Linked DNA regions of Homo sapiens: regions 1 and 3 are each linked to region 2. Evidence: promoter capture Hi-C in 16 types of primary human blood cells and fetal thymus (Javierre and others, 2016). All regions are on one chromosome and are shown on one strand. The core of a region is centred on a gene start or on the middle of the fragment in contact, and the rest is flanking DNA. Distances in the headings are between cores, read along the strand shown. Region 1 holds the start of TFB1M (transcription factor B1, mitochondrial). Region 2 holds the start of CAHM (colon adenocarcinoma hypermethylated). Region 3 overlaps PHF10 (PHD finger protein 10).

The links. Contacts are between HindIII fragments. The CHiCAGO score rates a contact against its expected background, and 5 or more counts as called.
Region 1: the fragment with the promoter of TFB1M here is called in contact with the fragment with the promoter of CAHM in region 2 in 1 of 17 cell types (naive CD8 T cells); the score reaches 8.5 in naive CD8 T cells.
Region 3: a contact is called between a fragment that was not itself captured here and the fragment with the promoter of CAHM in region 2, in 1 of 17 cell types (fetal thymus). The highest score is 5.7, in fetal thymus.

Annotation. Positions count from the first base shown.
Region 1 is chr6:155,312,471-155,315,861 of GRCh38, forward strand. TFB1M (transcription factor B1, mitochondrial) reads right to left here and starts at 2,014. Exons shown (of 7, transcript NM_016020.4): 1 at 1,826-2,014. The coding sequence starts at 1,958. RefSeq lists enhancers at 1,789-2,108, 2,107-3,097, 2,179-2,228, 2,779-2,828 and a silencer at 2,279-2,358. The HindIII fragment of the contact is 4,007 bases long and covers 1-3,391 here.
Region 2 is chr6:163,412,251-163,415,215 of GRCh38, forward strand. CAHM (colon adenocarcinoma hypermethylated) reads right to left here and starts at 1,700. Exons shown (of 1, transcript NR_037593.1): 1 at 815-1,700. It overlaps QKI (QKI, KH domain containing RNA binding), which reads left to right and starts at 2,468. Exons shown (of 8, transcript NM_006775.3): 1 at 2,468-2,965. The coding sequence starts at 2,944. LOC124901234 (basic proline-rich protein-like) reads left to right here. Exons shown (of 4, transcript XM_047419614.1): 2 at 364-1,835; 3 at 1,999-2,418; 4 at 2,715-2,926. The coding sequence starts at 956. The coding sequence ends at 2,926. RefSeq lists silencers at 1,107-1,886, 1,977-2,796 and enhancers at 1,720-2,372, 2,373-2,965. The HindIII fragment of the contact is 4,236 bases long and covers 83-2,965 here.
Region 3 is chr6:169,720,419-169,723,774 of GRCh38, forward strand. It overlaps PHF10 (PHD finger protein 10), which reads right to left. Exons shown (of 12, transcript NM_018288.4): 2 at 587-693. Among named protein-coding and RNA genes, the nearest start is that of PHF10, 2.4 kb to the right of the region's middle. RefSeq lists a silencer at 3,184-3,356. The HindIII fragment of the contact is 1,516 bases long and covers 1,237-2,752 here.

The DNA of each region.
Region 1 (3,391 bases), core at 764-3,263, 8.1 Mb before region 2:
AATGCCTCTCAGAGGGAACAGGAATGATACATTATGGAATAAATTTAATACTCTCCTTCTTTAAAATGGAGAGCTACAACAGTAGGCAGGTCTCTGCTCTCAAACTTTTCAGGCACATTGAAATACAAATGAATATTAAAGAAGCGCTATCAAATCAATGAGCTTGGATTTCAATCTTGCTCTCTTCTGCCTGAGCTTCTAACCTCAGCTAAGTACCCTCATCTCCGTTAACTCTGGTTCCCATAGAAAGAGTGGATAATATCTAGAATTTGAAACTTACTCCTGAAGATAAAGGCTCATGAGAAAATGTATTTGAAGGATTTTAAAAAATACACAGACCTATAACTTCTGCCCTGAGAATGGTGATTTATATTTAGAATGTGGCTAATAACAAGCAGAAAAGGCTGGTACTAGCTATTACTAGAACCAAAGAATTTTAGAGTGGGCAATCTTTTAAAGTAGTAGGCCCTTCTTCCAATTAAAAGATGAGGAAACTACTGGACATGGTGGCTCACACCTGTAATCCCAACACTTTGGAAGGCCGAGGCGAGTGGATCACTTGAGATCAGGAGTTTGAGACCAGCCTGAGCAACATAGTGAAACCCTGTCTTTACTAAAAACACAAAATTAGCTAGGCACGGTGGCTCACGCCTGTAATCCTAGCTACCTGGGAGGCTGAGGCACGAGAATCACTTGAACCGGGGAGGCGGAGGTTGCAGTGAGCTGAGATCATGCCATTGCACTCCAGCTTGGGCAACAAGAGTGAAACTCCATCTTAAAAAAAGAAAAAAAAAAAAAAGAGAAAACTTGAGTTAAATTATTTTATCCAAAGTCATATTGGTACAGGCAGAATAAAGACTACATGTCCAAGAAATAAAACATTTTATGTTTTCTGGAGTGTGCTTCATTTAAGTGAAAATGAACTTTTTGGGTGTGATTTACTGCTCTTTTCAACTTCTGAAGTGGGACTAAATAGAATGAAATATGAAAATCTCAAAACCTAAGTACTCCAGCCGTGACTTAGTAGACGTATTTGTAATATATTTTTGCAACCTCATCTCATAGAACATCACTAAGCAATGGTGATGGTGGTTAAACCAATATATAAATACATTCGTCAAAACTCATCAAATTGAGCACTTCAAACTTATTAATTTTATTGCACATAAATTATATCTCATAAAAAGTAACTTTAAACAATTAGGTGTGGGAATGTAAACTTGCTAAAAGTAAGCTCCTCGAGGAAACACCGCCTTGTTCACGCCCATATCCTACCCCCGGCACTAGCACAATGTTGCTTGTGTAATATGTACTTATGAATGAATATTAGCGCCCCCGAGGCTTAGACTGAACAGGTAAACGTTTAAAAAACGAATCATACGAGGGATACTCTTTTCACCAAGTTATTGATAAAATCCTCGCATCAATTTAAATTCTGGTAACTTTAAACTGCATGTAAAGCAACTGCAGTCAGCATGTGCTGTACTATTTCAGAATGATTGATTTCACAGTGACCCAGATTCCAATATTCACTAGCGCCTTTCACGACCCATGAACCCTTCCTCCCCTAGGGAGCTTGGCATTTATGCAGCCTGCCGGCAGGCTACACCCCCCCGAACGCGGAGTTTTGTGAGCAATCAACGCACTTCACGTGTCTCCTGGGCGGTGGGACCGGAGTTCTGATACAAAGAGGTCGAAGGACCTGACCAAAAGCCCGTCGCACGCCAGTGCCTGGACACCCGCCCGCGGGGACGTGCAAGACCCCCCGGCCCACGCCCCCACGGACACTGGGGAGACATCCGGGGAGCACTGCTAAGCCATCCACCTGTCAGCCTCAAGTCCAGGAGGAAATTCTGTGATAGCTGCTTCGCTGCTTGCAGTCTTAACAACTTAATGATTTCTCGAATCGTGGGCAACGGAGGGAGACGGCAAGTGCTGAGTTTTCCGGAGGCAGCCATGATACGCGGCAAGCACCATCCAACCCTACCTCACCCAGGACCTTCACCGCCGCTCCGAAAGAAACGCGCAGGGGAGGAACCTGCGAGACCTAAGGCCCGCCTCGGAGTCAGCCCCATTGGTCAGACCTATCCCACCGGAAGCGATGACCGCGGACAGGAAATTCCCGGCGTGCTGAGAGCGCATGCGCTAAGTCCTGCCGCGAGAAGGGCAGGCTGGGTGGTCGGCGGCTTCCGCCTGTGAGAGCCGGGGGAGAGCCGGGTGGACTAGGCTTCTCCTGGGCGGGCTATGGGGAGAGCGCCCAGGAGGGCGGGACGAGGCGGGGCCTGGACAGGGTGGGGTTTTTCGGAGGAGTTGCTCTGAGAGGTGCAGCCGGTTTACTCCCGCCCTGAAGTTCCCAAGGGCTTCCGGCTCTTTAACGTTCTAAATACCTGTCTGTGAATATTAGAGGAAAAGCGGGTGCTTAGAGGCAAAGCTACTGTTTGTTAGCAATTCTTTCTTACTGTGAGGCGTTTTTAGAACCGCCGCTCTGCAGATGCTGCATGATGGGTTTTTAACTTCGTTCAGCCTCAGTTTTTTCATCAGTTAAATGGAGCTAATGTCTACCTCAAAATTGTGAGCACTAAATGAGAGAGATCGCCTGGTGTGCACGTTCAGAACATAGTGCACGCATGGCATTGGGTAAGCTCCCACGTGATCAGTGGTGGCTGTTATTATTTGGCAGATGAATAATTGGCCAGTGTAAAGAGGTCATTCGATTTGCTAGGATTACAGCTAAGAACAGAGAGAAGACTGAAATATGAGTTCTGTCTTTCCGTTATACGAGATAAAAACAACGAAGCAAAAAAAAAAAAAAATTAAAGTTTCTCTGATAGGTGGGAGAATTTTGCTGTTTTAACCCTGCTTATGTTTGGACATTGCTGCGTTGATCACAAATGAATTTTAAAGTTTCTGTTCCTCAATTAGTAAGTTTTTAAAAAAGCTAATGGAAAACGAAACAACTATGGGTATGGATATAAAAATGAGGAGTACTTTGAAATTCCAGTGGAAAACTCAACCACCTTCTATAAAAGCTGTTTTAAAAGGAACTGAGATAATCTCCTAGCTTTAAAAAATAGTGATGACTACCATAGAGGTAAGGAGATTTGCCCAACGTGGCATCAAAATGTAGACTGGAAGTACAAACTCTTGATTCAGATATCTTATCGTCCAAAACACAGTATACCTGACAAAGCATTATTTCACAGTTATATTCATTATTTCCCGTACTCCTCACAATGGTCCCATGTGAATGAGATTATTATTCTTAGTTTGCTGTGAAGAAATAGGGGAGGTGAGGTCATTTGACAATGCCCAGAGTCAGACAGCAAAGTACAGAGAGAAGACAACCTGAGTTGTGTTTTTTCTGAGTTCTGATCTCACTGGCCACACTCAA
Region 2 (2,965 bases), core at 450-2,949:
GTCAAAAATGGTGGAATATTGTCATAAAATTCAACCTGATTTAAAGGATAGGGCAAGGAAAAAAAGCAAAAAAAAAAAAAAAAGCTTTAGAATAAAATATAATTGGATTATAATCCCAGACACAGGACTCACTAGCTATATTCTTGGGCAAGTTACTTAACTTCATCTTTCTTGGGTTTCCCCTTATTTGTAAAATGGGGATAACAGTCTAACCTAAGCCCAAGTTGTACTGATGATTAAACGAGATATGCATGTAGGGCATTCAGCATAGTGCCTAGGAGCTTAATAAATAAGCAGGCCATTAAGAAGGGGATTGCATCTTTTACACTAGCAGCATCAAAACCTTGATTTTGATTTTTCTAGGTACTGAAACAGCCTTCATTACTTAGAGACCATAGCTTTTTTGCAAGTTACTATTCCCTGCATTTAGAAAGTTCATCTTTAAACAGGCAATTCAGTAAGTAAATATTCTATGGCTCTAAAACAGATACGGCTGTTGGAGACTTTAAAACATCTGACAGTTACATTTTTAATGTTGTCTACCAAGGCTATTACATTTCCTCTGTCAAAGTAACTTAATTTTAAAAACGAACTCTGTGCTTGTTAAACGAAAAGGCCAGAAGGCTACTGGCTACTCAGCGTTCATTTGAAATTCTTATAGTGCCTTCAGTACAATTCAAACTTAGAGGTGATTCTCACAATTCATGTGAAGCAACATTTTACAAAAAAAATCACCTACGTTCACTGTTAAGTCAGAAGACAGAATGATTAACAAAATCTCAGCCGCGAATTACTCTCACGATGGCCAACTGGATATTAAATAACTCTGCATTATTTTAATGGAATGTTATAAAGGATTTGCAACAAAATGCAGACGTAGATTTAGGGACTGCCGACTTCTATAGATCAAGGACTTCATTGGTGCAGCTGAGGAAATTCTTCCAAACAAGTCTAAATGTTGGAAATCCACCAAACTGCAGAGAAAGACCTCTTGCCTCCGTATTCTTTCTTCATCTGTAAAAATGTTGACTTCTGCTTTTCAGACTACGCGCACAGCCTCTTTATTTCCTACTGCGGCTTCATTCCCTCACGGAACACTGACGCCATCGCGAAGGAAGCATTTCGAGCACGACTGACGCTCCCCTTATTATTTGCTAAGCCGCTGCGCTCGGGTCTGGCTACGATTTGCTTTCAGAATAACGGGAAGGTGCAACAAGATCGCTTCCCTAGAGGCGCGTCGCCCGCGTGGCCCGGACCCCCCACGCCCGCCCGCCGCCCCGTGGGTGCGCACGCGTGTCCGCGCAGGCTTCCCGCCTGGCGAGTGCAAGGCTCCTCTCCGCCGTGCTGCTTTCCAGCCTCTCAGCAAATCACGAACACCGAAAGAAGCCACGGCGGCGACGGGAGGGGCGTCGCGCGTGCTTCCCTCGGCGACAAAGCGGGAGCCGGGCGCGCCGGCCGAGGGCGCCCGGCGCAGAGTCCCGCAGAGGCGGACGCCGCGGCACGCGCCTCGAAAAGCCTCAAACTCTTATCCTCGGCTCTCCCGCCCCACCTCCGCCCCGCAGCCAAGACCCGCGCCGTGGCGGGCCCGACGGCCAAGGAAAGCCCACCAGCCCTCCGCACCGTGGGCGACGGGCCAAGACCCGGCCCTAAACGGCCAGACCCAGCCCCTAGTCGGCTGCCGCCCCCGCCCCACGCAGGCGCGCTCCGGGGCCCTCCCCTCCCCCACCGCGCGCTCGCGGGGCCCGACGGGGGCGGAGCGACCCTCGGAAGGGGCGTGGCGACCGGGCTCGACGCGCGCACGCGCTCTGGAGCCCCACGGCTACGTGTCGGGCCACGTGATGCCCACCCCGAAAGTCCCCCGTGAAGCAACAGGACGTTAAAAAAAAATTTCTCTTCTGCGGGGTGGATAAGAGGTTCTGAAAAAACTATAGTAACGGGAGGCGAGGCGGAGGCAGCGCTGGCGCGTCCCGCTGGAATTCCTCTCGCCTGCCGCGCCAGCCCCGACCGCGCCCGCAGCCCCACCCGCCCCGTGCCGTGGAAAGCCCCGCGCCCCCCCCGCGGCCGTCGGCCCCGCAGCCCACACCCACCCGCCCCGGGCGCCCCGCACGGCGGCGACCCAGTCCTTGCGCCCAGGCCCGCCGAGCGCCGCAGTCCGTCACACTCCCGTTGCCCCCGTCGCCCGCCCCGCCGGGGAGGCAGGGAGGAGGGGGCGCGGCGCCGGCGGCTGCCCCGGTCGCGGGGCGGCGGGCAGCAGGCAGCGGGAGCGCGCCGGCCGGGACCCGCTAACGGCCGCCCTGCGCGGCCCCGCCCGCCGCCCGCCCCCGGCCCTCCCCGCGCCGCTGCCCCTCCCCCCGCCGCCGCCGCTGCTGCCGCCGCCGCTGGCAGCGCCGCCTGAACTGAGGCGAACTCCGCCGCCAAGTGAGTGAGGAGGAGGAGGAGGAGAAGGAGGAGGAGGAAGAGGAGGAGCGCAGTCGGAGCGCGGCGGCAGCGGCAGAGGCGCCGCGGCGGGGACCAGCCCAGAGAGACCCCCCGAGCCCGCGGCACAGGCGGCGGCGGCGCTGAGCGGGCTCGACCAGCCGAGCGAGCGGCGGCCCCGGCTCCTCCTCGTCCGGCGCCAGCAGCCCGCGCCCCGCGCCCGCACTCGGCCAGCCGAGACCCGCCTCCCGCCCGCCCGCCGGCCTCGTGAGGGACGCGCCGAGCCGGGCGGCCGAGAGCGGCGGCGGCTGGGAGCGCGTCGGGCCCGGGCGGAAAGTGCCTGCGGGGGGCGGGCGAGCGCGCGGTGCCGGCCGCCCCGGGGCTCGGCGCGGGAGCCAGAGCGGGAGCCGGCGCGGAGCGGGACGCCGGGTCCCGAGCGGCCCGCGGCCGGGGCTCGCCCCCGCCCCTCCCTCCTCTCCGGCGGCGGCGGCGGCGGCGGCGGGCGGAGTGAGCTGCGGAGCCTGGAATATGGTCGGGGAAATGGAAACGA
Region 3 (3,356 bases), core at 745-3,244, 6.3 Mb after region 2:
ATGGATAAACAAAATCAGTATATACATAAAATGGAGTATTATTCAGCCTTAAAAACAGAAAAAAAGTCTGACATATGCTACAAAGATGAACCTTGAAGATATTCAAAGTTCTAAGAGAAATAAGCCAGCCACAAAAGGACAAATATTTTATGGTTCCACTTATATGAAGTAACTAAGTAGTCGTATTCACGGAAATAGAAAGTAGAATGATGGTTGCAAGGCGCTAAATAGAGGGAGAAAGGGAGGTTATTGCTTAATGGTTATAAAGTTTGGGGTAGTGAAAGTTTTGGAAATGGATGGTGGTAATGGCTGCACAACACTGTGAATGTAACTGATGCCAATGAATTTCACACTTAAAAATTGTTAAAATGATTAATTTTATGTATGTATGTATTTTACTATCATAAAATTGCTTTTTAATTACACTCAGTAGCAAGACCAACTTTGATGGCACATTATAGAACAGGAAGAAAATATTCTACAATTTTTAATAATTGCCTTTGCCAGAGCTGGGGGAAAGGGAAGAGGATGTTAAGGCAAAGAGGAACATCACAAAAAATATTAATAACCGATAAAATGACAGTACCCAAGATCTTGACTTGAAGTTTCACAACTCCTAGAACTATCTCCTGAGCCCATTCGCCTCCTTTTGGATGGCTGGGTCCCATCATTTGAATTATCTTCATTATCATCCTATACATTTAAAAGATTCAAAAATAATAATTAGAGAAAGAATAAAAGAACAGTAAGTCTCAATAAATGAAAGACTGTCTAAGGACAACTAGTCATACAAGTATTAACTTCATATTATAATTAAAAGGGTCCAAGAGTTTGGCATGAGCAAGACCTGGAATAAAATTTAAAACTGATCTTCAATCCAATCCAAATAAGAACATTTTCAATGAACCCGTAAATGCAAATCTGCTTTGGTTTCTGCTCTTCATAAACATATCAAACTGCTGCATCACTCTAGGATTAAAGCAAACTCTCCTACCCAAGCTCAGGGGGAAAAAAATGTATGGATCATTTACAGTTCTCAATTCAACTTGAAGCCGGTTCATAGGACTATTTTAATTGACTACTTTAGGCATTTATGTCCCTGTGAAAAGGGGACATATGAGACCGAAAACAATTCTAACTATTCACTCTTCCTCTTACACTGCTAAAATTTAGCAAAAATATACCCTAATAAGGGTCATCAATCTATAATATAGCAGCACACACACCAAAAAAAGAAGCTTGAGAGGGGGAGGGGAATTTTTTTTTTAAAGAAGATTATATATTTTTAATGTAATCCATTATGTGGCAAGAACATCAAGGTTATAAATTCAACCATTTCATTCAGAAAAAGTATCAGATGTTAGGAAATTGATTTATTTACTTATTAGCCAAGGCTTAAAGTCTAAAAATCATAATTTTTTAATGTAATATAGCTTTCAACGCTAATCCAATTTTGCTAAATACTATAGTCCTCTTGCTACATATTAAAATGAAAGCAATCCTGCAAAAGAATATAAAGAGGCAATATGGTATAGTGGCCAGGCATGCCAGAGCTGGACGGCCTGGGTTCTCACTGGGCACTGTCCCTCACTAGCTGAGTAGGTTATTCTCTGTGAGCATCTCCTTATCCGAAAATTTGAGACTATAATAGTGCCCCATTACATGGCTAATTCAATGATTAAACGAGCTACTATATTAAAAGTACTTAGAACAAGGACTGGCGAGTTATCTGATAAATATTAGTTAAAATGATGATTATGATGATAATAAAGTCTCAAATGTCTCTAGCTCCTAGGAATTAACTGGTTCTTTTCCAAATAGTAAAATATATATTCTTTTTCAGTCCTTATAAAATAAGCATTTCATTAAAGAGCTTTGCATAGTCTAAATCTACTCTCTGAAAATTTGCATAAGTATCTGCATACAACTGCAACACTGCATATTCAATACTTTCAACATAACTCATTTTAAACATTCCAGTATTTTTTCTATTTTACTGGTGAGCATTTTAAGGATTTTTATATCCTTAAACTTAAAAACATTTTCCTTTAGCTAAAAAGTTGAGACACTCAAAAATATACAAAAATAAAGTTAAAAATGCAAAGTGCTCAAAAAAGCTGAGACTACAATTTCATCAAGTGTTTTAAATTACTACTACAAATTCTAGGCAAAGGCATTATTATATAAAGTGAGCATCTGGGCAGCGGGCCTTTTTCTTGAGGGAGGTAGTAACAGCAATATTGTTCCCAATACATGACGGAATAAGGTAAGAATTTCCGTGTAACCGCAATACTGATACAGAGGCCCATGTTTTCAAAGACTCCCAAACATACTAAATCAGAGATGTGCCTTCCAGAGTTACAGGTGGTTTCCAACTACAGATCAGATGAATTTCTATGCATCACATCCTTCCTAGGGCTCAGGGGTCAAGAATGCACTCAGGGGGCACTGGCTCAGTGCCCTCCAGGTGCCGGGCCAGACGTCAAATGCTGGAAGTGCAAGGATGTGCATTCAGAGTCTTACAATCTAGTTACTTCCATTGACGACAGCCTTTGAGGAACCTTCAAAATGAGTCTCACAGCACGGTGGACGTGCGCAACGGGAAAAGCTCCCAAGCAGGCGCAGCCCGGCTAGGCTGCTACAGGACGGCTTCCCCTGCCAACGCGCACACGGCACACCGCGCACCGCACGAAGGCTGGCTGGCTCTGCAGCATTCCAGTTCCCACCGCCTTCTAATTTCAATCCAATTTCAAGCTTCCAGGCTTTTAAAACATCATTCCTCCCTTCCAACTTTCTGTCACAAACTGCTAGCCTAACTTTAGAACCAAAACGTTTTGATGCGTGACACTACTGCTCATCTCCATTTTCTCCACAAGCACCAATTTCTTTTCACCTCCTCAAGCAGTAAAAAGTTTTAACAGACTTCCGCTGAAAACATCCGGACGCTTGCGTATTAACTTAGTTATTACAGTAAGTTCACTGAGTGTGTTGATTTTCCATATCGTTCGCCACTCGGTTTTTGCAGTAAGCGTTCAAACACTTCGGCAAACTATGCGCGGAATGAACGCTGAGCGAACGCGCGCTTCTGCAGGCCCCTCCGAGGCCAACTCTCTCGGCCCCGGGCGCGTTCCGTCCCACGGCTGGCCTAGGAGGAGGCGTTTTGGGGACAAGCTTGTCAAGCAGGGCCGGCTGCCAACTTCGGGGAAGCCGCGCCGCGTCCCCCGCCCGCCCGCACTTGTTGCTCGCTAGAGGCCGCGGGCTCACCTCGGGGCCCCGCCTCGCCGACCACCCCCGGTCTCAGGCGCGGCGCCCGGCCTGGGCCCACGCCCCCGAGACGCTGGGCGGCCGCCGGTGGG